2 separate regions of the Homo sapiens genome follow, and region 2 is linked to region 1. Evidence: promoter capture Hi-C in 16 types of primary human blood cells and fetal thymus (Javierre and others, 2016). All regions are on one chromosome and are shown on one strand. Each heading gives the region's core, a stretch centred on a gene start or on the middle of the fragment in contact. The rest is flanking DNA. Distances are from core to core; before and after follow the strand shown.

What was found. The method cuts DNA at HindIII sites, captures the fragments that hold promoters and counts their contacts. A CHiCAGO score of 5 or more calls a contact.
Region 2: a contact is called between the fragment with the promoter of SPTSSA here and the fragment with the promoter of ARHGAP5-AS1 in region 1, in 1 of 17 cell types (erythroblasts). The highest score is 5.6, in erythroblasts.

What each region holds. Positions count from the first base shown.
Region 1 is chr14:32,075,414-32,078,113 of GRCh38, reverse strand. ARHGAP5-AS1 (ARHGAP5 antisense RNA 1 (head to head)) reads left to right here and starts at 1,415. Exons shown (of 1, transcript NR_027263.1): 1 at 1,415-2,695. It overlaps ARHGAP5 (Rho GTPase activating protein 5), which reads right to left and starts at 810. Exons shown (of 7, transcript NM_001030055.2): 1 at 679-810. RefSeq lists silencers at 457-751, 550-769, 1,130-1,389. The HindIII fragment of the contact is 3,747 bases long and covers 109-2,700 here.
Region 2 is chr14:34,460,707-34,463,514 of GRCh38, reverse strand. SPTSSA (serine palmitoyltransferase small subunit A) reads left to right here and starts at 1,275. Exons shown (of 2, transcript NM_138288.4): 1 at 1,275-1,419. The coding sequence starts at 1,308. RefSeq lists silencers at 753-1,262, 1,383-1,552 and enhancers at 462-1,412, 1,953-2,062. The HindIII fragment of the contact is 5,560 bases long and covers 1-2,808 here.

The DNA.
Region 1 (2,700 bases), core at 166-2,665:
GTTATTCTAGCGAAAACTCAGTATCAAAGCCTCAACCCAGTCGCAGTCAGCCCATAGGACTCTGGGCTCTGGATGCGCAGTGCAACTTCTCATATCTTACTCCAAGCTTCAAAGCAGATGGAAAATTGGTGAAGAGAACCCAGGGAGGAGTCGAGGAGATGAGGGAAAGTGAAAGGGCCGATCCCCCCTACAAGGCGTTTAAGTTTGCAACCGAGACTGTGTTTCCGCGAATCTGCACCCGCCCCGTGTACCCTTTCCAGGTGGAACTCGTTAACAGCAGCAACCCGGCCAACGGACACCGCCACCTCCCCTCTCGACGGACCACCCGAGACTCGAGCAAGTGAGGCGGCGGGCGAGAGCGGACGCCTGGCGGGGCCGGCGATCCCCGGCCAGCATCAGGCCTCCGCCGACCCTGGCCCCGTCACCTGTGGAGAAAGCACCCCCTCCCCCGGCCTCTCTGCCCTTCACGCCGAACGTATCCCTAACGCTGCAGCTGCTGCCCGCCCGGCCTGCGAAAACCGAGCGCAGCGCCAGGCTCCCCTCGGCGGCCGCGGGGCCCCAGCCCCTTCAACTGGTTACAACCGGCAGCGGCGACCGAGCGGGGCAGCTAGCCGCAGGAGGGTCCCCGTCCGGGAGGGGGCAGGCAGGCTTGGAGGAGCGGGGTCCGCAAGGTCCTACCTAACAACGTCGGTCTCCTCCGTCTCCTCCTCAACGGCAGCGGCCCCGGCGGTGGCGGCGGCAGCGACATTCCTGGGGACCGCTCCCGCCGCCGCCGCCTCCTCCTCCACTCTCCGCTCGCCTCTCTTCCTCGGCGCGCTCACCGAGCGGCGCGTCCCTTCAGCCACCTCCCCCCGCCCTCCCCGACACACACGCCCCGAAACCCTGAGCCCCACGGCTCCCGCAGCCAGCTCACCCACCCTCCCTCCCTCCCTCCCCGCCACCAGCGGCGGCCCGTCCCTCCCCCCTTCCCCAGCGCCCGCCGCCGCGCCGGGCTCAGTAATGGCGGCCACTCGGGCTCCCTCGCGCTGACGGATTTCTCTCCCTCTCTCCCGAACTTTACCTCAGCATCTCTCCCGGCGCGCGCAGCCACACACCCGACCGGGGGCGGAGCGGCGGCGCGGCGGCGCAGCCTGGACGGGACGCGCGCGCGCGCGCGAACCCGCGCTGCCCTCCCCACAATCCCCCGTCCCCGCCCCTTCACCTCGCGACGCCTCCCGCGCCGCGCACCCGGCACGGCCCCGCCCCTGCCCTCGTCTCCCGGGAGCCTGGGAAGGCGCGAGCTATCCAGTCGGAGGGAGGGGGACGAGCGCGCGGGGCCGCGTCCTCGCTCGCGTCCCCGCTCCCTCCTCCCCTCTGCTTCTCCCTCCCCTCCACTCCCCCATTGGCTTCTACCCCTCCCCCTTCTTCCTCCGCCTCTCCCACCATTGGTTCCCTCCCCTACTCCATTCCTTCTCACCTTTTCCCTTTTACCCATTGGCGTGAGTATTTTTCCTCAGCTTCCCTCTTTCTCCGTATTCTGCTCCTCCTCAGTCCCATCCTCCACGCTTTGGAAGCTACTGCCTTACTGCCCGGAGCGCCGTCGTCCCCGAACCTCCCCTGCTTCTCCCTTTCCTTCTGTTCCGGTTTCTGGTCGTAACTCAAGAGCAAACCACCGTACTGCAAAGGAACCAGATATTGTGCTCGCGGTTCCAAACCGGGCATGGGCACCGAATGCTTCTCGATAAATCCCCTTATGGTCTCTGAGCATTAAAGAAAGCAAGGGAGGAAAACATGCGCCCAAGCTCGTTCGCAGGAACATGTTCGCGTGTCTGCGCCTGTGTGCGCAGCCAGTTTTCTGGCTGAGGATCGCTCGCCAACTACAGACATCACCCGCCCAGGACCCGGTGCCACACTCACCCAGAAGACGAAACTCCACAGGAGCGAGAAGAGGAGTCCATTTCTCCGTCGGCTCGGCACGGCACGGGGATGCAGGCCCCTGATTCAGTACGTTCTGTGAAAGTGGAGCGAGAAGCCAAGACGTGGATCGAGAAGCCCCGTGGGGCGGGTCTCAGGGTGGCCCAAAAGACCCCTGTTCACGCCACTACCAGCCTAACTTTAGGAACTGTCGTCCACCTGGCTTTTATTATACTGCCTTAAACATATTCACTTTTTTGAGACTCTAGAAATTTCACAAGTTTTGGGGTAGAGCACACTGGGCTTTGGGTGTGTTTCTCATGAGGGCACTGACGCTGAATGGTGCAGTGAGAAAGGACGGTAGAAACCACTGCCTTTGCTTTTACCATTGAAGAAACTGAGGTCCTGTGACTTTCCCGAGGTCATCGGAATCTGCCTTGCACAGGAGACTTAAAATAGTTGCCAGCAGATAAAAGAATGAGCAAAACCACATCTACTCCAATTTGTTAAGTCTGAAAGAAAGTAATTGAGGGGGGATTCCTCTTTGGGGAAATATTTATTTCCTGCATTGAAAATAGTTTAATGTTAGTAAACATATAAAAAGTATTTTAAATTCAAGTTATTCTTTATTTCTTATGTTACATAAGGTACTGAAGTTAGCCAAGGTTGCTTTTGTGTTATAATGATGCAGCTGCTGCCAACCAGAAGTACATTTACGGTCTGTCAGTAAAGAAAACAAAAACTGCCTGTTGGTAAAAATCTATTAGAAAATATTTGTCAGTAAATTTGTCACAATATTCCAGCAGA
Region 2 (2,808 bases), core at 26-2,525, 2.4 Mb before region 1:
CACGCCACCACCCCTGGCTAACTTTTTGTTATGTATTTACTTATTTTTTTTGGTAGAGACGGGGTTTCACCATGTTGCTCAGGCTGGTCTCGACCTTCTGGACTCAAGTGATCCGCCAGCCTCAGCCTCCCAAAGTGCTTGGATTACAGGCATGAGCTACGGCGCTTGGCCGGCACTTGGTACTTTTAATGAATAGTTATTAACCATGAAACTTTTAAAGTTTAAGCAGTAGTATGTTTAACCTGGAAGACTTTTAACATTTAAACAGCAGGCCATTTAATTGTGGCAGTTCACATGCTACACCAGTGCATGGAGCTCCTTGTGGCCAGTGCAATGTTGCTGGCCCATCTGGCAGTGGGAAAATCTGGGCATCCAGGAGTGCATCTCTAGGGAAGTATCACCAGCCCTCACACCAATCTCAAGCTGCCTGTCTTCTGCAGAACCCACTAGATCAGCGCGCTTCTGGCCTTGACCCACTTGGTGGTTACCTACAGCCACTAAGAGGTGGGCAGATAGATGTTTTTGGTAAGTGGTCTCTGGGTTAGGGAGTGCATGGGTTATGTCCGTCTAGGGGTGTGTGTGTGTGTGTGTGTGTGTGTGTGTGTGTGTGTGTGTGTGTGCATGGGTGGGGGAAGGGAGGAAGGAGGCCGAATGTGCATCCCTTCTACAAGGACGCCTTTCCAGACCTCCTTATTAGGTGGCGTTCGCCTCCTCACCCTCTCTCAGCCCCTTATCTCCTCTTACACGGATCACGACTTGATTAATGCTTGTCTCCCAGCTAGGCCGCCAGCTGCACAAGGTAAGGAACCGAAGGCATTCCGGTTCTCCCTGGCAATCCTCCTTCTCAGAAGGATGCCTGAGGCATAACAAGTGTTCCAGAAATATTTCTTCCGCAAGCGCTCTGGGCCAGTCTGGACGGACCGAGCGCCCGCTGGGCTGCGGGGGCCCCGGGACCCCGGCCGGCACTGACGCCCCGCCCACCACCGGCCGGCCCGGGCGGGGTGGGGCGCGGCTGGGCGCTCTCGCGGGGACCGTTCTCCGGCTAGCGTGGGCGATGCCCGGGCGGGGAAACGGGAGGGGACGACGCGACGCGAGGTAGCGGCCTGGCCAATGAGCGCGGGTCGGGCGGGGCTGGGGGCCGGCGGCCGGGGCGCGCGCGGGTCTGGGCGTGCCGCGGGTGACGGCGGGGCCGGGCGGGCCAATGGGCGCTGGGTGGCGGGCGGGCGGGCCTGGCGGCCGGGGGCTTTAGGACGTGAGCGGGCGGCCGGCCGGACAGACTGACGTGTGAGCTGCATCGCGGGAGGCGCATGGCGGGGATGGCGCTGGCGCGGGCCTGGAAGCAGATGTCCTGGTTCTACTACCAGTACCTGCTGGTCACGGCGCTCTACATGCTGGAGCCCTGGGAGCGGACGGTGTTCAGTATCCTGTCCCGGCCGCGCGCGCGGGGGCCGGGCTGGGGGCGCGGGCCGCGGGGCCGCATTTCCCCAGGCCCCGGGCCTGGGGTGGAGGCTGGAGCGGCGGCCCCGCCGGTCCTGTGCGCGGAAGCCGGGGGTGCAGGGGGAGGTCTGGGGGCCGAGGGCGGCGCTCGCGGGGTTAAGTGGGGGGTGGGGGAGACGAGAACTCTTGAGATCCGGGGTCACCTGTGAGTCGCTGGACCCAAGGGGGAAGCGTCTTGATTCCTGGAGGAAATCTCCGAAGGTGATGTGTAACCCTGTGTGTCGCCTGCACTTCGGCCGCAACTGCCTTTGGTTCAGTCCCCTGTTCCTGTAGGAGGCGGGGATCATGTAACAGTGGAGCACATCGCTCCCGGCTTGGACGCCTTTGACCTTTAAGTGTTCCTGATTTAGTTGGCTTTGGGTCTACCAAGAATTCTAGTCAGTTAACTAGCTTTTAAGCCAGGTTCTGAATTTGTAGGCATGACACTCCAGTAGTTTTTGAAAGCAGTTTAAGTTATTGTATCTTTTTGGTCTTCAAGTTGGGGAGTTTTAAAAGTGTATTTATTGCTTCTGTGCACCGTCCGTAGAAGTCGGCCCGAAAAGTGGTGCAATTTGTGGTTAGTTGTCGGTAGGGTTTGAAACTGTGTTTTGGTGGATAGTTAATAAATTCTTGTTAATGACTATTGAGTGGTTACTATAAGCAAAGCATTTGTGCAAAGCACGTTGTCTGTATCTTAACTCATCTAACTTTGAGAACTTCAGTTAATAACTCAGGGTTGTGAAGATAGGCTCCCTGAAAGTCTGATGTTTCTTGTCTCTGCTTGTCCATATTGACATCCTTTGATGATATTCTTGCAGATTAAATACTGATAATGAATGAGATGTAACTTTTAAAAAACTCAGGCCAATACAAAACAGGTATTTCACAAAACATGTTTAGTTTATCCACGTTCTCTCCTTTTCAGTGTGGTTTAGTTGGAGTAGCTTACTTCAGAATAACTTTGCGAATGCATTGTTGCATTCCAGTGAGTGACTGAGGTAATTTCATTCTAAGCCTTATCAAGTGTGTTTATTTGTTTTGAGATAGCTTAAGGTTGTACTCAAAGCTGAGTCTTTTGTTTAAGCACTTTTGAGGAATTTGAGATGCTTTCAAAGCAGTTTATTTATTTATTACTGTTGGCATTTCTTTCCAAACCTGGAATTTAAGAACCAGAATGCATATTTTGGATTTAGACTCTGAATATAGTTTGCTTTGATTTCCTGCACCATTTATTTGTAGCTGCAGTTTAGTCTCACTCTTTAGGGCTCGCAAGGTCATGCCTTGTAAAATATATACTTGAATGCATATTTAATAGAAGTCTCTCAGTAGAAG